Linked DNA regions of Homo sapiens: regions 1, 2, 4, 5, 6 and 7 are each linked to region 3. The links are contacts of gene promoters, found by promoter capture Hi-C in blood cells and fetal thymus (Javierre and others, 2016). All regions are on one chromosome and are shown on one strand. Each heading gives the region's core, a stretch centred on a gene start or on the middle of the fragment in contact. The rest is flanking DNA. Distances are from core to core; before and after follow the strand shown. Region 1 overlaps XPNPEP1 (X-prolyl aminopeptidase 1). Region 2 overlaps RBM20 (RNA binding motif protein 20). Region 3 holds the start of MXI1 (MAX interactor 1, dimerization protein). Region 4 has its middle 18 kb from the start of SMC3. Region 5 overlaps SMC3 (structural maintenance of chromosomes 3). Region 6 overlaps XPNPEP1 (X-prolyl aminopeptidase 1). Region 7 has its middle 18 kb from the start of DUSP5.

Region 1 (2,700 bases), core at 185-2,684, 310 kb after region 3:
TAAACTATAGCAAATACCACACTGCATGTTCAGCATCGTTTATATGGCTGTTTATTAGTGTTAATATTTCATGGAATATCTGTCTACTATTGCCGATTGTCCACTTCGAGAAGATAGTTTCTTATGTTTGCTATAGAGTCAAGCTCGGTGCAGTTCATAGCAATAAGTGCTGCAGTTCATCAGATGTTCGGCATGCGCTAATTGCTTTATGTCACACCTCAACCCTTCAAGGTGGGCATTATGTTCATCCCCATTTTACAGATGAGGAAGTTGAGCCCCAGGTTCACCCAGCTAGTAAGTGGGGAACCAGGCTTGAACAGAGTTCTAACTGCTGGTTGTAGGAGATGTCTATTCTGTGGCTGATGAAAGTAGAGGTAAGTGCAGCATACACCTCGTATTCCTTGTTCCCTCAGAATTTATAATCCAATTGTGAGACTAGATGTGTACAACTTCTGTACAAAAGTAGAAGAGGTTGCTTGGCAGCTTGCAAGGGTATGGGCTTTCGAAAGTCAGACCTGAGGCTGGGTGCAGTGGCTCATGTCCATAATCCCAGCACTTTGGGAGGTCGAGGCAGGCGGATCACTTGAGGTCAGGAGTTCGAGACCAGCCTGACCAACATGGCAAAACCCTGTCTCTACTAAAAATACCAAAATTAGCTGGGTGTGGTGGTGGGCGCCTGTAATCCCAGCTACTTGGGAGACTGAGGCATGAGAATCGCGTGAACCTGGGAGGTGGAGGTTGTAGTGAGCCTAGATTGCGCCACTGCACTCCAGCCCAGGCGACAAAGCAAGACCCCATCTTAAAAAAAAAAAAAGTCAGACCTGAGTTCAGATCTTGGTTCTGCCATTTACTGTGGTGTTACCTTGGGGAAGTTAGTTATTTCTCTAAGCTTCATTTTTTTCATCTGTAGATTAGCGAGGGATGATACCTTCCAGGGCTGCTGTGAGGATTAGAATGAGAGGAAATGAATACAGTTATTGACTAGTAGGTGTTGAGACAATAATAAACAATACAGACTAAATAATCTTAGCTAACATTATTTGTCAGCATTATCCAAGGTAGGGTATGGATAAGTGCCAACATGGATGGTCCTGTAAAATTCAGAAATGTGGGAGCCTCTGAAAGCTGAAGTGGGTCAGGAAGCTTCATGGAAAAGGGAGCACTTGAACCAGATTTTTGAGAGATGACTAGCTTTTTTTTTTTTTGTAGTTTACAGATGCTTTATTTGGCTATGTATTGTTTATATTGTTGGAATTAGATGCCAACATTTAAAAATTGGGTAATTTCTCATGAACCCATATTTCTGGCTTCTTCTGAAATATTGAAGGTTAGCAACATGTGGCCTGCATTTCAGAAATCAGAGCTGAGTAGGAGCTGCTGTCTTTAGAAAAGATATCCTTTGTCCTGTACCCTGAGGTATTTGAATTTGAAACCCCATTTATAATCCCTTACGATCTTTTCCCCATTAGATAATGTATTAGTTTCCTATCACTGCTATAACAAATTACCACAGTGACTTAAAACAAATTTATTCTCTTATGGTTCTGGAAGTCTGAAGTCTAAAATGGGTCAGCAGGGCTATGTTACTTCTGCAGGCTCCAGGGAGAGTCCATTTCCTTGCCTTTTCCAGTTTCTGGAGGCCACCTGCATTCCTTGGCTCATGGTCCCTTCGTCCATCTTCGTAGATATGGTTGAGGTTTTAACTGGATGTAGGGAAAAGCTTCATGTCTCTTTCTGCTTGTTCATTTATAATACAAATGTGGGTTGAGGATCTAGTCACCTGTGCTGAGTGCAGGGACAGGACAGATACCCTGATCTCATGGAACTTATATGCTTGGGGTTAAGATGGGGGTTGAGGAACAAGACAATAAACATATAAAAAGTTCATTAAGAAGAGAAACATTGCCCAGCATGGTGGCTCTTGCCTGTAATCCTAGCACTTTGGGAGGCTGAGGCAGGCTGATCACTTGAGCCCAGAAGTTCAAGGCCAGCCTGGCAACGTGGTAAAACCCCGTTTCTACAAAAAAAAAAAAAAAAAAGGTGTGTGCCTGCTGTAGTCCCAGCTATTGAGAAGATTGAGGTGGGAGGATTGCTTGAACCTGACAGGTCAAGGATACAATGAGCCATAATTGTGTCACCACACTCTAGCTAGGGTAACAGAAGGCGATCCTGTCTCCAAAAGAAAAAAAAAAAAAAAAAGACAAATATCTAGAGTATGTGTGTGCTATACAGAGACTTAAAAGTGGCCAGGTGGCTATTATAGCTGGGTAGTACAGGTAGGCCTCTCTGTAGAGGTGATATTTGATCTCAAATGTAATGATGAGAAGGACCTAGCCATACCATGATCAGAAATACTTTTATAGGCACAAGGAAGCACATGTGCCAAGGCCTTGAGGCAGGAATGAGCTCAGGATATGCAAAGAGCAGAAAGGAGGTGGGTGTGTCTGGAGCATGGTGAATGGGAGCAGAGCTGCAAGAGGACTGGCAAAGTCAGATCAGCTGGTACCTTGACTGGGCCAGAGTTTGGATTTTATCTTAAATATAATAGGAAGCCATTGGAGGGTTTTAAGGAGGTTGCTAACATGATCTTAGATATTTGGAAAAGCTCACTCTGAGTGTATGTGCAGAGTGGATTGTAGGGGCGGTAGTCCAGGTAGAGATGATGGAGGCTTGGACTGAGTGCTGCTATTAGAAATGGAG
Region 2 (2,700 bases), core at 167-2,666, 460 kb before region 3:
ATCAACCAACAGTCCCTGGGAAAGAGACAAGAGTGAGCTAGATCATTTCTTGAATCTACTCTAAAACTCCAAGGTGTGAAACTTTTAGACTCCCTAGGAAATCAAGTTGAAGCAAGGAAAAATCAAGACAAAAATTCTCAACTCAAGACAACATGCATTGAATACACATTCATGTAAACGTGCAAAGAGAGATGATACCACTTTAACAAACTGTAAATATTATTTCACACAAAAATCACCATCTAAAAAAATCACTCTTCAAAAAAAAAATAAGGTGGAAACTAAAAGGTTTCAAAGAGATGAATTATTAGACTTACTAAATAAAGTTGGGTCATGGTTAAAACCAAAGCAAACATTTCTGGAACAACTAAATAGGGTGAAATCGAATGGTTTCAAAGAAATGGCATATTATTTTTAATTCAGCAACCTTTAATCAGGAGTTTGTCGATTGACCAAGTTCTAAGCCTTCTCCAAAAGCCAGTAGAGTACCTTTTAGTCACTGTGTGCTTAAGAACTGTGTCAATGTACAACTCTTGCCACCCCAATCCCTACCTTTTACTAACTGGACAGACCCAAAAATGTCAGTTTGGCTGGGAAAGCCAGTCCCTTGAAATGTACTACAACCAGGCCAGATACAGTGGCTCATGCCTGTAATCCCAACACTTTGGGAGGCCAAAGCTGGAGGACCGCTTGAGCCCAGGGTTTGGACACCAGTCTGAGCAACACAGCAAGACCGTATCTCCATTTTTTAAAAAGTACTGTAACCAAGTGAAGGTGCAAAGTTTTCAGATTTGAAAGCAATCTTCTGAGCCTACAAGTGTTGTAATTGAATCCAAAGTTTTGTTGAAAGGCACATACAATCACGTAAGTGGTTTTTGAATGGGAGGCAAAAAACCATAAGAGGCTTTTCAGATAGATTGTAGTGGCCTGTAAACACGTCTTACTTCAAGTTTATTGCTTTTAACAGAAAATCCAAATAATACATGGAGGAGCTGGTCGTTTAAATATCATTCCTATTCCCCAAAAGACAACCCTGTCCCCCCTACCCCGCCACACGCATACAGACTTGCCACACTCCTTCCCAGTGCTTCCCTCTCAGGCTATCTGGAAACACTTTCATAGTTCTCCAGCCATAAGCAAGCTCACCGTCAGTGGATTAGCCAAAGTAACCAGTATTTTAAATTAATCTTCTGCTTATTCTCCATCATGGCTTTGCTGCTATTCCAGAAAAAACGAAGGAAGATTTTCCTCTGCTTAAAAACCACAACACCTTTATGAGGTTCAAGACAACTAAGTTAAATACACATACATGTAAACATGCAAAGAGAAATGACACAACTTTAACAAACTGTAAATATGTTTTCCATAAAAGTCACCATTTTAAAAGTCACTTTTCAAACAAAACAAAGCAAGGGCCAGGACTTAAAATGATCAGTAGGTTTTTTGGTTTTTTTTTTTTTAATTGTTATACTAAAAAAGTAACCACAGGGAACTGTCCTAAGAAGTTCAAAAAAGAACTTCGTCAGTCTCTGCCTTCAAGTGAAACATTAGGCCAAAGAATCTTAAGAGTTGGGATCAACTCTGCCTCTACCCTCCCCTCTCTTCACAGTCCTCAAAGAGCAGACATGAAAAAGATTTCAAAGAGGGAATTTAAGAGGGTTTCTAAAAGGTTTCTCTGGCACTCTCATCACTCATCGCAAACTCTCTGGGCAGGAACGACACTTGTTCAGTTTTTTTTTTCCTCTCCCTCCCTCCACCTGTTGTCCCAAGTCTCCCTTGGTATGTTGGGGCCATTCGCAATTTCTGCTTGAATGACAAGGTCTCCCCTATAATCCAGTGTCTCCCCTTCAACCCAAGTCGCTGCTTCTAAATTGGAGCCCCCTAGAAAAATATGTGCCAATTAGGGGAGACTTTACGCATCACAAAATGGCCATAGGTTGGTTGGTTTGGTTAGTTTTTCCCTTGTTTTATGCTTTTCAGTATTATGACTGGCTGCACCTTAACCTTCCAAAGTAAGTGAAGCTGAGATGGGTGAAGACGCACACAGTCAGATAGCAGGGGGCTAGGCTAGTGGTCCCTAATTCCCTTTTGGCCTCCCCACCCAAGGTAGCCCCAGACACAGCTCTGGAATTCCAGGCGGGATGCTTGGCATACGTCAGTAATTGAGTTAGGGGGATCTAAAGAAAGACTTCACGTTCACATTCATATGCTAAACTTAGTTAAAAATAGATGCAAGAAGGGCCTGACTTCACTTTTAATTTTAGCCTGGTGATGAACATGCCCTAAAGACAGAAAGTCACCAGGCATTTTCCTGAGCGCAGTGATCTTCATATTTTTATAAAAAGGAAATGCAGCATGTTCTATTAATAAAAGTGCTGTAGCCTCAGTTAAATCCGGACAGTTCGTAAATCAGGGCTCCCTCTGGCTTAGCTTCCCTGCACCACTCACTCACACCCAAGCCCCAGAAAGTGGGCAGGTCACATGCATGGGGGGTAAAGTGAGCAGGACACCAGGGGCCCAGGAATCAAAGGCCACACTGGATGGCTTTGTGATCAGTGAGGCACTCCAAGGCATGGCTCCCAGACACTTCCCAGGTGATCAAATGACTCAAACAAGTGCATTTGCCAGTCATTCTTAAAGGGCTAATGAAAAGATCGACACTGCCAGGATGAAGCCCTGTGTGTTACGAGATTAGTGATG
Region 3 (2,700 bases), core at 181-2,680:
CGCACTACTATCCACGTGAATCTGGGGGTGGGCGGGTGGGGGGAGTAGAAATCGACCAGGAAGGCGTTTGCCTTGCTTGCCCTGTGCGCTCACTCAAGAGCCGTCTCCCGGAAAATAAAGAAAAAGCACAGAACAGCCCACACCTTCTTCCCCAACTATTGTTTCTCAAAGATCCCAAAGTTTCCTTCTAGCCGCGTCCCCACGGCCAAGTTTCCCGGGCTCAGGACGGCGTGTCCGGGGCGAGCTGCTGGCGTTGCTTGGCCCCGCCGGCCTCCTTCTTTGGGGGGGGGGGGGCGGCGGTGGCACCCCACGGCAACGGACGTGCAGGGGGACTGTGTCCGTAGACGTGATGGCCTGAGCCCAGTCCTGCTGCTAGAGGGAAGGAAAAAGGCGAAGTAGGAGGGAGAGAGAGAGACAGAGCCGAGCCCACGCCGTGGAGAGCTGTTTGGTTGTTATTGTTGTAGTGTGTGTCTGTGTGTTTTCTTTCTGGAACCTCTGAGCTCTGCCTATGGTTTCCAACTTTCGGCTTCTAATCCCCACCCCACCCAGGAACGAGCAACAGAAAAACAACACTTGTCTGCCTGAGAAGGCTCCGGAAAAAAAAAAAAAAAAAAGGAAGAAAAGCGACCTCAAAGAGATGAGCTCTCGGCTCAGTTGTCAGCAAACAACAACACTCCCCCGCTCCTCCGCTGGGCCATCCTCCCAGCCCCAGCCCGCCGGAGAGGACAGACCGACGCACCGACAGGCCCCTCTCCCCCTCGCCCGTCTTTGTTACATCTTTAGCAGCTTTGTGCGTGCGTGTCCTTTCTCCGGTGTCATCGGCTTTACTGCCAAGGGCTGGATGTGTATGTTGGGCGGGGGGGGGACGGGCCGAGCTCGCAACAGGGGTCGCCCAAGTGGGCGAGAAAGAAAGAACCGGGCGCCGAGGAAGAGCAGGGGCCCCCAAACTTACTTTTGTTTTCTTTCTCGATCTGCTCCAGGTAGCTGGCGGCCTCGAGCAGAATCTGCACGTTCTGCAGAAAAGTGTTGATGTGCTTCTCCATCGAGTTCTCGCTGGTGTTGAAAATGTCTGAGAAGGGGCACCTGGGCTTGGCCCCAGCGGGGTCCTCGGGCAGGGCCGGGGGCTGGGGCGCGGCCACGGCGGGGGGCACAGCCGGGGGCGCGGCGGGGGCCAGCCCCGCGCCCTCGCAGCGCGCCTCCTTGCGCGGCCGCCCGCGTTTGCCCATGGAGGAGCGGGGGTCCGCCGAGCTCGTCCTCTAACGGGGCTGCGCGGCCCGGCCGAGCTCCGGGCCCCCAGGGAGACCCGGCCGGCTGGAGCAGAGAAGGCGCCGGGGCGAAAAGCCGGCCTGACTTCCCGAGCCTCGCTGCCTGCAGTTGTGTGTGTGAGTGTATGGGAGTGTGTGTCGGTCTCGCTGTGAGTCTGTGTGTATGGGAGATTGAATGAACCTACAGGACAGACGGAGGCACTCTGGCGCCTGGGTCCTAGTGCGAGCCTGTCGCCATCGGACCGGTCAAAATAAAAGGTGGAGACTAGCGAGCGAGGCAGGGACCGCCCCTGCCCGTCCCCGCAGGCTTCCCTGCCTCTCCCCAAGGCTTACCACAGAGTAGAACACTGTCTTTTAACCGGAATGGAAAAAAATACCTGATGTCTCTGGGTGCACCTGCATAAAAACAAACTACTTTTTTCACAGAAAAATAATGCCTCAGAAAGTGTCCAGCACAATGCCTGGCACATAGTTAGGTCCCCATACATGGTGGCTGCTATGACTTAAAAATAAATAAATAAAAGCTCCCCAATCCAAATGGGAAGAAGGGAACCAGTGTGTAACCAGAAGATCCCCCCACCCCCAACACAAACACTCCTACTCACAGACACACATACATACGTAATCACGCACACACTTGCGAGGCACCTGTGTGTGCCTTCACACAGTCAAATGAAATCCCAGGCCGTCCAAATCCGAGTTACAGATTTACTCATGCCTTTCTCCCTTCAAATGCAAAGTTATTTTCCAGAAGTGGGAGGAGATGTCAGCATCCCTCTCCACACTCCTCTGCCCAGCCTTGGTTCAGCTGTGCAAAGCTCACACCAGGATGCCTCCACACCTGGCTCCCTTTAATTTGAGAGGCAGAAGTGGCAGCTCAGGAACCACCCCCCTCCCCAGCTGAATTCCACCTTTTGCCTCTGAAAACCCCTACCCCAGCTGACATTGTTTCACTGCCACTGCTGTCCGCAATCATGGATGCTTTCCAGCCCTGGGAAGTACTGGAGGTGTCAGGGGATGATTGAAGGCTGCTCTAGGGTGCCATAGGAAAGGGTTCAAATCCCAGCTCTGCTGCATACAGACTGTGTGAGCTTGGACAAGTCCCTTAACCTCTCTTGGCCTAAGTTTCCACATCATTGAAATGTGTGATAAGATGCTTGTGTATTGTATCTGACTTAGCACACTCTGGCCCATGGTAAGCTCTTTTTCTTCCAATCCAGACCCAGGCAAGAGCCTGAGTCCCCTATTCTGATGTAACTTGTATCTAAGAAAGGAACAAGATGTAGTGAACAAGACTCTTCTGCACTTCCTTGGAAAATATCTCTATGACAAGCCCATCTAAATATGGTTACTTTGCAAGGTCACCTGGAGTTTTCCTCCAGGGGAACCATTTATATAGAGGACAAAGACAATGCTGCCCCCTGGAGGTGTGCGA
Region 4 (2,700 bases), core at 28-2,527, 340 kb before region 3:
AAAAGCATTTATTTCTTTTGATATTTTGTTGTTTTTACTTATTACATATAATGTTTTTGTAAAAACTAATTTTTTTTAGTTTATAATTTTAAAATCTTCAGTTTTCTGGGTGGAACCAGGGAGAGTGTTGAAGAGAAGAAAAAGAAGGCTCCTGCTGTGCCAGAAACCTTTAAGTAAAAGTGAAGGCATTTTGCAGAGCTGAAGATCAAGTGCCAGAGAAAAAAGTTTGCCCAAAGGATGCTTCGAAAGGAAGGAAGGAAGCTTATCTATGAAGAAGCTAAACACTATCACTAGGAATATAGACAGATGTATAGAACTGAGATATGAATGGCTAGAATGGCAAGAAAAGCTGGCAACTTCTGTGTACCTGCAGAACCCAAATTGGCATTGATCATTAGGATCAGAGGTCTCAGTGGTGGCAGCCCAAGGGTCCGAAAGGTGTGGCAGCTTCTTTGCCTTGTCAGATCTTCATCAGAAACTTTGTTAAGTTCAACAGTGCTTCAATTTACATGCTGAGGATTGTAGAACCATATATTGCATGAGAGTCTCCGAACCTGAATTCAGTAAATGAACTAGTCTCCAAGTGTGGTTACAGCAAAATCAATATGAAGCAAATTGTCTTGACAGATAACACTTTGATGGCTTGATCTCTTGGTAAATATGGAATCATCTGTGCAGAGGATCTGATTCATGAGGTCTGTGCTGTTGGAAAATGCTTCAAAGAAGCAAATAACTTCCTCAGGCCTTTCAAATTATCTTCTCCATGAGGAGGAATGAAGGAAAAGACCACCTATTTTGTAGAAGGTGGAGATGCTGGCAACAGGGACAACCAGATCAAAAAGCTCCTTAGAAGGATGAACTATGGTGTGTGCCACAATTATTTCTGTAATCTGATCAGTTAATAAACAGTGATTGCTTTCAAATTGAAAAAATAAATAACAAAAATATTAGCTAAATTAGGAAGCAGACTTTCATAATAATTTTTAACTGTAATTTAGAGGTGACAAAGCAAACTTCACTAGACTTGTTTTCATCAAGAAAAGACACACCTTTGCTAATGCACAGCAGCACCAATAGTAAAACAGATGATGTCTATGGAAGTGATTCCAAGGAAATTAAACTACTACGAAAAGAGTTTGTACTAGTTTTACTCAGAAGTATAATTCCTCACATATTGAGTTCAGTTTTGTAGCCATAATTGACACTAATATTCTAAAACTATAGTATGTTATTTGTAGAGATATGCTAGCTAATAAAGCTCATAAGACCATCAACCTTATGTAGCATTTACATAGAAAACAAAAGAAGTAAATTCAAAACCTAAAGAATACCTTGAAAGAATGTTGAATTTAAAAAACTCATAAGAACAGATGTTCAATATTTCACATATAAACATTAGTAATGTATGAGCATCTTATAAAGCAGCATTTGGGGATGCGAAAATTTAAAAAAGAAGACTTTAGCACAAGACTGTATCAAAGATCTTTGAAATTATGGGTGACTGTGGCAAATAAAGTAACTCAAATGTCGTTTTTCATAACTAGACGAATTCAGTAACTAGCTAATGACATGGCAGATTAACTCACAGATACACGGCTAGCAAAGTCGTTTTCATTGCAAGTTATTGAATGCCCACATACTGCTAAAATGACAATTAATGTAGTATATATGCAATTCAAACATAGTGGAAGAATTTTTTTCAGTTTCATTGATGACAAGCACAACTAGTCCTAAATGTATAAAACTATAAAGGATTACACTGTCAAGGAATGTGGTTTAAGACTGCTGTAGGAAGATGCTTTAATGTGCAGCTTCATTGACAGAAAAGCATACTAAGTTTGAAGAATGTAAATCAATGCACTGCTTTTTTTAATCAGGAAAGTTTTACAATGAAAAAATGTTAGCTGAATTAAACAGTGTCTAGTTGTGTAGTTACATAGCAAAAAAATAGTTATGCAAAGGATAATGCATGAAATTCGAGATTATTCTCTTTATTATAATATGTGTTCATATGGAAGCTGATCATAAACAACTGTTGTAGGTGAGATACGATGCTTACTGAAGAGAAAAGTACTATTAGGAATGTTTGACTGTGAAACAAACTCTTAGTGTTCCTAGAAAGTAAAACAAACATCTTTATAAGGTCCCAATGTGGTTTGGGACAATAGGCATGCTTCTTTGTGTGATATTTTTGGCATTTTAAATGCTTTTACTACTTCTAAGCAGGGAGAAAAAATGCAGCATGATTTTCAATGGCAAAGAAGATTGAAGGGCAAAAATGACAGAAGCTTGGAAGAACAGAATATCCAGAGACTGTTACAACATGCCCCATAGTTTAGCAACAATTATCAGTGATGTTAGTGATAATCTTGATATTGCATATCTGTAAAATGTTATGGTCAAACAAGTTATGGGACATTTACATTTTATTTCCATCAAAAGAAGATTCGTGCATGGGAAATTCATAGATCCATAATCTGTTGCTTTCATTGAAAGACAATTTAACTCTACAGGATAAACTGTTGGAACTGGCAATTGAATAATTGACGAATTTTGAAAATACAGAATCATTTGCTTCATTTTGAATAAAAGTGAAAGATGGAAATCCTGAGCTTCCTAAAATTGTCTTAAAATCTCTTTTTCCTTTCCCGTTAACAAAGCTCTGTGAGACTGGTTCTCCACTAACCTCTTATTAAAACA
Region 5 (2,700 bases), core at 153-2,652, 390 kb before region 3:
ACAGTTTCTTTAAATGCTTTTCATTTTTTAGAATCGGTGTTGGTAGTTTACATCTATGCAGTTTTAAAAATCAATTAAAATGCTTGATCAAAACATTAAATATGTAAAGGCAGTAAGATAAATATGGTAAGGCTAACAAGCTCAAACTCATAGCAATACTTACAACTAATAAGTAATGCTAATTAACTAAATTTTAAGGAAATGAAAATTTCTTGTATAATCCTAACCTAGCTAGATTGGTTTAGAAAAACAAAATCTTATTTACTCCTATGTATATTAAAAGTCCAAGCCTCATTTTAATATTTTCTCAGTTCTTTTCTTTCATATTGCCCTAGTTAGCAAGAAAGGCCCTTTTCACAATAGCCAATTACTAACGAATTCTTTTTCCAGTCAGCTGTCTACTTACCTGCTGAAGTTGACGAATCTCATCATTCAGTGCATCTACTCTCTTCTGATCTTCCAAACTCAGTTGAGAAAGCAAATCAGTTCCCAGTTCTGCTTTCAATGACTCTCTGGTAGACTCCATAGCATGCAAGCTTGCCTCCAAACTCTGTAAGCTACGTTGCTATATGACATTATCCATTTATTAGTAAGGTATTAGCCACTGTATTACTTATAGTGAAAATTTTAAAACAATCTATATTTGATTGAGCTAAATATATAGACATATCAACTCAAATATTAGGTGCCTATTAATTTGGTAATTAGGACTCTAGCAACAAGAAAAATATGATGTAATAGTATAGGTGGGGCAGGGTGGGGCAGATCATATTCCATGATTAAACTATACAAAAATCTTCAGGCATATTATAAGAACAAAAAGTTGCCGGGCGCAGTGGCTCACGCCTGTAACCCCAGCACTTTGGGAGGCCAAGGTGGGTGGATCACGAGGTCAGGAGTTCGAGACGAGCCTGGCCAACATGGTGAAACCCGTCTATACTGAAAATACAAAAATTAGCTGGGTGTGGAGGCACACGCCTGCAATCCCAGCTACTCTGGAGGCCGAGGCAGGAGAATTGCTTGAACCCAGGAAGTGGAGGTTGCAGTAAGCCGAGATCACGCCATTGCACTCCAGCCTGGGCGATAGGGCGAGACTCCATCCCCCTCAAAAAATAAAAAGTTGTCAGAATATGGTTGGGATGGTACAACTGTAGGCACATCTTTTTTTTTTTTTTTAAGCTCTTTGTAGTTTTAGTATTATACTAAGTAAAAGATTTGTCAAAACTGTCAAGTTTATGAGACCAATAACACACTATCACTTATAAGTTTGCTTTCTAATTTTAATACAATCTGGACAAAACGGAATCAAATATTCAACTAATTCCATTGTGCTTCAGATAAAAATGGTTACTGACAAAAACTGACCATCAGACAGTACTCTTATGTCACAGCTTCAAATGCCTATTTGTTCAATGAAGGTGGAAAGTTTGAACGTGCCAACAATAGGAGACTTTGGGTATCCATGGGTTTAAGAATGGTAAAATAGATGTAGATATCCAAAAGTATGGGTCTAGCCTGGGCACAGTGGCTCACACTTGTAATCCCAGCACTTCGGGAGGGCAAGGCAGGTGGATCATCTGAGGTCAGGAGTTTGAGACAAGCCTGGACAACATGGTGAAACCCCATGTCTACTAAAAACACAAAATTAGCCGGATGTGGTGGCGTATGTCTGTAGTCCCAGCTACTCAGGAGGCTGAGACAGGAAAATCGCTTGAACCCAGGAGGTGGAGGCTGCAGTGAGCTGAGAACGCACCACTGCACTCCAGCCTGGGTGAGACAGAAAGAGACTCTGTCTTCAAAAAAAAAAAGTATGGGTCCAAACAAAAATGAAACATAAAATTCAAGGATAACCCATATAATGTATGATTCATATTTCCATATTATTAATCTGTAACAATCGATCTATAACCAAAGATATACTTACGAACCTTAGGCATGAAGGTTTTCTCTGACTGCTGCCTCTTCTCTTTTAGCATCTTCATTTCTGATAATATGCTATCTCTAGATGCTTTAAATTTCCTTTGCTGGGTCTCGATCTGTTGCATTTGGTTCATCAACTGATCAATTTCATTATTAATCCATATACAAGGCTAAGGAAAATTATCTCCAGGTTGTAAATATATCGTATGTTCTTAATTCTTTTTAGACACAACACCATGTATCCCTTCCTTTTCTTTACCCCCAAATAACATTTATGTCCTCAAATTTATGGACCAAAACAATGCTGAACTATATTACCCAAAATGCATTCAATCATAAAGAAGCTTGAAACATTTCACCCCATTTCACTCTCAGAATAACATGTATACTGTTTTACTAAAAGTTATACAAAACAAATTCTTGGAAAACCATAAAGGAGGTTAGGTGAAATCTAACAATATTACATACTTTTAAATATCTTTTCATTCAACAAATGTTTACTGTTACTATGCTTAAGGCACTATGTTAAGGGTTTATGTATGAAGAGTTCTTGCCATGTGTGGAATAATTCAATCTAGCTGGATTATCAAACACAGGAAGACAGCTGGTATACACTGTCAACATCCTCCTTTTCCTCAGTATTTCCCCATACGCTCTTTGTGTTAACATCTTGCCAAATTCAGGCAGTTCTTTAAAGTGCGATATGCAGACCCCTGCAAGGTCAAAGCTCAGGTGCTTATTTTTCTTTTTCTGTGCTTGCACTGATGGCACAGAAGTTAT
Region 6 (2,700 bases), core at 15-2,514, 330 kb after region 3:
GATCTCGGCTCACTGCAACCTCTGCTGCCCAGGTTCAAGAGATTCTCCTGCCTTAGCCTCCCAAGTAGCTGGGATTATAGGCGCCTGCCACTGCGCCTGGCTAATTTTCGTAGTTGTAGTAGAGATGGGGTTTCACCATCTTGGCCAGGCTGGTCTTGAACTCCTGACCTTGTGATCCACCCACCTCGGCCTCCCAAAGTGCTGGGATTACAGGCATGAGCCACCATGCCTGGACTTTATGTAAATTATTATTATTACATTTTTATTATTTTTTTTTATTTTTGAGACAGAGCCTTGCTCCATCGCCCAGGCTGGAGTGCAGTGGAGCGATCTCGGCTCACTGCAAGCTCCGTCTCCTGGGTTCACGCCATTCTCCTGCCTCAGCCTCCCGACTAGCTGGGACTACAGGCGCCCGCCACCATGCTTGGCTAATTTTTTGTATTTTTAGTAGAGACGGGGTTTCACTGTGTTAGCCAGGATGGTCTCGATCTCCTGACCTTGTGATCCGCCCGCCTCGGCCTCCCAAAGTGCTGGGATTACAGGCGTGAGCCACCGTGCCTGGCCGTAAATTATTTTTAAAAATATAAATTATTTTTACATGTCTCTTAGTGTGCAGATAAATTTTTTTTCTTTTTTTTTTTCTTATTTTGAGATGGGGTCTCATCTGTTGCACAGGCTGGAGAGTAGTGGTGTGATCACAGCTCACTGCAGCCTCAGCCTCCCCAAGCTCAGGTGATCCTCCCACCTCAGCCTCCCGATTAGTTGGGACTACAGCCCACCTGATTTTTTCTGATTTTTTTGTAGAGATAAGGTTTTGCCATGTTGCCCAGGCTGATCTGAAACTCCTGGGCTCAAGCGATCCACCTATCTTGGCCTCCCAAAGTGCTAGGATTATAGGTGTGAGCCATCACACCTGGCTTAGATATGATTTTGTGTTTTATTTTATTCTCTTAGAATCATAGTGTGAACATTTTCCATGTACATTGAGGCCTTAAAAAAGGATCCAAATGAAAACTGCATCTAGTGGCTCTTCTGATTTACTAACCCAGTCCTCCTATTTTTAAATGTTTGGGTTGTTTTTAATTTTTTGCTGTTATCAGTAATCCTGCAATAATCTCTCCGCATTTATCTTTTTTATTTCTCTAGAATGATTTTCTTACGATGATTTCTTAGGAGGGGATGCTTTTGAATTTTTAAACTTAGATATGTTGTTTTGGGAGGTTTTAGGATAAAATACTGAAGCACAATAGTTGAGTGAAAAATTAAATGAATAGAAACTATTGGATTTTAGATAGCTTTGGTGAGAGCCTTTGGGAGTTCTCCCTTGCTAAAGATGTGTCCTGTAGATTGGTCAGTTGGGATGAAGCAATTGAGGAAAAAGTGAGCTTTTAATGTACCTCCTCTAATTTGTAAGAGGCACACATGAATTTATCTCACCAGATGATTTATAAGCAATTTTCTCATAGGTTCCCAAAGGTGGTGTGACAGAGATCTCAGCTGCTGACAAAGCTGAGGAGTTTCGCAGGTAAGGATCCATTTGGGGGGACCCAGGAGCCTCGTGCTGATTTTCTTGCTAGTTGAATGAGGCTGGAAGGGCCCTGAATCTTAGCACAGTAAAAACCTTTAAGCCACTCTGCTTTCTGTCTTTCTGTTACAGGCAACAGGCAGACTTTGTGGACCTGAGCTTCCCAACAATTTCCAGTACGGGACCCAACGGCGCCATCATTCACTACGCGTAAGGCATGCGGAGGAGCATGCTGCCTGGCCTTGCTGCTTCTGCACAGGAGCCTGAGCAGGGGAGAGACATTATTTTACCAGAGGCCTCTGTGCCCACCTTCATCTGTCTGTTGAGACTGTAAAATGAAGGGAAATAAGACTTCTAAGATTTTATTTTCTCCCAATCCCCAAGCCTCTGCCTTTTGGGAGCCTCTTCTTAGGCTCAGTATGGCACTGGCATTCTCTGCAGGGTAGTCAGATGGGTGTCCCTCTTTCCTTTTTGAAGCTGCAGGAACTGTATGCATAGCCCTTGCATCTTGATGACTAAGTTTTTTTTTTTTTGGAGACAAGGTCTTGCTCTGCTGCCCAGGCTGGAGCGCAGTGGTGCCATCACAACTCACTGCAACTTTGAACTCCTAGACTCAAGCAATCCTCCTGCCTCAGCCTCCTGAGTAGCTGGGACTATAGGCATGTGCTACCACTCCTGGCTAATTTTTAGATTTTTTTGTAGAGATGAGGATCTTGATGTGTTGCCCAGGCTTGTCTCGAATTTCTGGACTCAAGCAATCCTCCTGCCTCAGCCTCCTAAAGTGCTGGAATTACAGGTGTGAGCCACTGTGCTTGGCCCATGACTGGAATTTTTGAGTAGTTTTCTTTCTTGGTAACAGCAGCTGTTTTGTACTAGTCCATACATCTTGTGAGCTCCATCAGTTCCATACCAAAAAAAAACTTAGTAGTAGGTTGTGAGGCAACCTGTTTTGGGTGGAGAGATAATCAGTACCCTCTCTTCCTGTCCCCCTGAGCCTGAAGCCTGGCATCCCAGTATGTGGTTTTTTTACCACGTGGTCTACAAGAACCCATGGACCCACAGGGCCGAGCCTCCCTTCCTTGTGAGACAGAGGGGCACTGATATGTCTAGGACTGACAGATCTTCCTGTGGAGATGGGGGGAAATGTCATTAGGTGTGGCCATTGGGCTTCAGCC
Region 7 (2,700 bases), core at 174-2,673, 310 kb before region 3:
TCCACACTTACACTCACGTACATACAGGTTGCCTTTGGGAGCAGCTTCCCTTGTGGGTCCCAGACAGTAGGGTTCCCTCGTGTCTGGCACCAGAAGCCATGCTTCCTGATTCTAAGTCCACTGTTGTTTCCTTGTGGGGATAGTTTTTCATCTTTCTACCATGGTGACATATATGAGGCTTCACCATTTGGGAGGTTAGTTCCTTTTAACCAAAACATTTTCTCCTCACCTCTGGAAGAAGCCCAGAATGAAAAATGCACAGATACTTCAAGGGCCTGCTTTAAGCCCCTGTTTGGTGGCTTCTTGGTTTCTGTAAACTTCGTAAGTGAACGGGTGTGTACTGGGGATGGGTGATGGAATAGTGGGAAGGGATCGGACCTACTAGTACAAATGAACCAGGATTTAAATTTCAGTTACCATGGCCGGGCACAGTGGCTCACACCTGTAATCCCAGCACTTTGGGAGGCCAAGGCAGGTGGATCACTTGAGGTCAGGAGTTCGAGACCAGACTGGCTAACATGGTGAAACCTCGTCTCTACTAAAAATACCGAAAAAAAAAAAAAAAAAGGCCAGGCATGGTGCTACACGCCTGTAATCCCAGCTACTGGGGGAGGCTGAGGCATGAGAATCACCTGAACCCGGGAGGCGGAGGCTGCAGTCAGCCAAGATTGTGTCACTGCACTCCAGCCTGGATGACAGAGCAGGACTCCATCTCAAAAATAAATACATAAAGGCCGGGCGCGGTGGCTCACGCCTGTAATCCCAGCACTTTGGGAGGCCGAGGCGGGCGGATCACAAGGTCAGGAGATCGAGACCATCCTGGCTAACACGGTGAAACCCTGTCTCTACTAAAAATACAAAAAATTAGCCGGGCGAGGTGGCGGGCGCCTGTAGTCCCAGCTACTCGGGAGGCTGAGGCAGGAGAATGGCGTGAACCCCAGGGGGCGGAGCCTGCAGTGAGCCGAGATTGCGCCACTGCACTCCAGCCTGGGCGACAGCGAGACTCCGTCTCAAAAAAAAAAAAAAAAAAAACCATAAAAAATAAAAAAAGAAAACAAAATAAAATTTAGTTACCACAATTGATCACTTTGGGGCAAGCAGGGAAGGGTTGTTTTATTATTTATTTTGAGACAAGGCCTCGCTCTATCGCCCAGGTTAGAGTGCAGTTGTGTGATCATGGTTCACTGCAGCCTCAACCTCCTGGGCTCAAGTGATCGGTAGGGTTTTTCTTTATGGCAGTTTTCTGGGGACTTCTTATGGAACGCTCAAGTCTCAGAGTCTGAGCGAGGCAGGTCTCTGAACTTAGAGGAAACCGATTGATCCCAGGGTGGGCATCTGACCCAAGGGCAGCCCAGCCGTAGGCTGACCAGTGACCAACGAGGTGAGGGGGTACCATGGCCTCTGACCAATAAGGTAGCAGTAATTAGCTAAGGCTGGGAATCTGCTTCCTCCAGGATTGGGGAGGAACTGGCAAATAGGTCCAGGATAAAGAAACTCACGTTTGGAGGGTCATAGGGGCTCTGAGAGAAACGGAGAGAACAGCTTCTGCTTCTGACCAGCGTTTCATTCTGTTTGTCACTTCTTCACTCCTTCACTCAACCAGTACTCATTGAATACCTAGGATAAGTCAGACCCTGTCCTTGGTTACTCTTGAAATGCAATGTAATCTCTGTTCTCCCGGTGTTTCTAGTCTGAAGGAGATGACGTTAATAAAATAATCACAGAGAAATGAAAAATTTTTAAACTTTGATGAAATACGAAGAAAAGATATAGAAGACTATGAGAGCCAATAGGGACATCTGACCTAGTCTGGGAGGGCTTTCCTGGCAAGGTGAATTTTGAACTGAGAGGCGAAAAACCAGTATGAGTTAATCGGTTGGAGGGGGAATTTATAGGAGAAAGATTCCAGTCAGAGGGACCAGCATGTGCAAAGGTCCTGAGGCAGGAGGGATGTTGGCATGTTTAAGGGATTGTCAGAAAGCCAATGTGGCTGGAATGGAATATAACTGGGGATTCAGTGCTATTTGCATTTATCCACAAACACTTTTCCTTAAAGTAGACTGAGGAGACTTCCTTGCAAACAAAAGCCCAATGGACAGAAGTACCTATTATATACCCCAGGTGTTCAGAGGGGTACAAGATCAATGAAATAGCTTCATTCGAGCTCTACCTTTTGCTAACTGTGTGACTTTGGGCAAGTTACTTAATATTTCTGAGGTTCAGTTTGTGCATCTGTAAAAATGAGATATAAAAACATTTATAGGCAGGCGCAGTGGCTCACGCCTGTAATCCCAGCACTTTGGGAGGCTGAGGAGGGTGGATCACAAGGTCAGGAGTTCAAGACCAGCCTGGCCAACATGGTAAAACCTTGTCTCTACTAAAAATACAAAAATCAGCCGGGCATGGTGGCACATGCCTGTAATCCCAGCTACTTGGGAGGCTGAGGCAGGAGAATTGCTTGAACCCAGGAGGTGGAGGTTGCAGTGAGCTGAGATGGGGCCACTGCGCTCCAGCCTGGGCGACAGGGCAAGACTCCCTCTAAAAAAAAAAAAAAAAAAAAAAAAAAAAAAAAAAAAAAAAAAAAAATTAATGAACAATGCAAGAGAGACTAAGGGGTGGGCTGAGTAGGGTGTGGATTGCTGGCACAGTAACACAGCCATAACCACAGGCTGGCAAATCTGAGGAGCTTGGGTACAAGGT

The links. Contacts are between HindIII fragments. The CHiCAGO score rates a contact against its expected background, and 5 or more counts as called.
Region 1: a fragment that was not itself captured here is called in contact with the fragment with the promoter of MXI1 in region 3 in 9 of 17 cell types (erythroblasts, megakaryocytes, activated CD4 T cells and 6 more); the score reaches 9.3 in erythroblasts.
Region 2: a contact is called between a fragment that was not itself captured here and the fragment with the promoter of MXI1 in region 3, in 2 of 17 cell types (M1 macrophages and fetal thymus). The highest score is 5.6, in M1 macrophages.
Region 4: a contact is called between a fragment that was not itself captured here and the fragment with the promoter of MXI1 in region 3, in 12 of 17 cell types (neutrophils, activated CD4 T cells, naive CD8 T cells and 9 more). The highest score is 11.0, in neutrophils.
Region 5: a fragment that was not itself captured here is called in contact with the fragment with the promoter of MXI1 in region 3 in 10 of 17 cell types (neutrophils, activated CD4 T cells, M1 macrophages and 7 more); the score reaches 10.2 in neutrophils.
Region 6: a contact is called between a fragment that was not itself captured here and the fragment with the promoter of MXI1 in region 3, in 3 of 17 cell types (fetal thymus, activated CD4 T cells and monocytes). The highest score is 7.3, in fetal thymus.
Region 7: a fragment that was not itself captured here is called in contact with the fragment with the promoter of MXI1 in region 3 in 1 of 17 cell types (activated CD4 T cells); the score reaches 6.0 in activated CD4 T cells.

What each region holds. Positions count from the first base shown.
Region 1 is chr10:109,895,773-109,898,472 of GRCh38, reverse strand. All of the region lies in intron 3 of XPNPEP1 (X-prolyl aminopeptidase 1), which reads left to right. Among named protein-coding and RNA genes, the nearest start is that of XPNPEP1, 26 kb to the left of the region's middle. The HindIII fragment of the contact is 577 bases long and covers 1,146-1,722 here.
Region 2 is chr10:110,667,648-110,670,347 of GRCh38, reverse strand. All of the region lies in intron 1 of RBM20 (RNA binding motif protein 20), which reads right to left. Among named protein-coding and RNA genes, the nearest start is that of RBM20, 25 kb to the right of the region's middle. The HindIII fragment of the contact is 7,690 bases long and covers 1-2,700 here.
Region 3 is chr10:110,206,335-110,209,034 of GRCh38, reverse strand. It overlaps MXI1 (MAX interactor 1, dimerization protein), which reads right to left and starts at 1,430. Exons shown (of 6, transcript NM_130439.3): 1 at 953-1,430. The coding sequence starts at 1,226. RefSeq lists a silencer at 1,180-1,259. The HindIII fragment of the contact is 6,685 bases long and covers 1-2,700 here.
Region 4 is chr10:110,548,275-110,550,974 of GRCh38, reverse strand. It overlaps the pseudogene RPL7P35. Among named protein-coding and RNA genes, the nearest start is that of SMC3, 18 kb to the left of the region's middle. The HindIII fragment of the contact is 2,027 bases long and covers 264-2,290 here.
Region 5 is chr10:110,597,519-110,600,218 of GRCh38, reverse strand. SMC3 (structural maintenance of chromosomes 3) reads right to left here. Exons shown (of 29, transcript NM_005445.4): 20 at 1,929-2,080; 21 at 407-565. Among named protein-coding and RNA genes, the nearest start is that of SMC3, 31 kb to the right of the region's middle. The HindIII fragment of the contact is 1,728 bases long and covers 539-2,266 here.
Region 6 is chr10:109,876,825-109,879,524 of GRCh38, reverse strand. XPNPEP1 (X-prolyl aminopeptidase 1) reads left to right here. Exons shown (of 21, transcript NM_020383.4): 13 at 1,467-1,525; 14 at 1,658-1,735. Among named protein-coding and RNA genes, the nearest start is that of XPNPEP1, 45 kb to the left of the region's middle. The HindIII fragment of the contact is 6,015 bases long and covers 1-2,700 here.
Region 7 is chr10:110,514,341-110,517,040 of GRCh38, reverse strand. No RefSeq gene overlaps it. Among named protein-coding and RNA genes, the nearest start is that of DUSP5, 18 kb to the right of the region's middle. The HindIII fragment of the contact is 7,392 bases long and covers 1-2,700 here.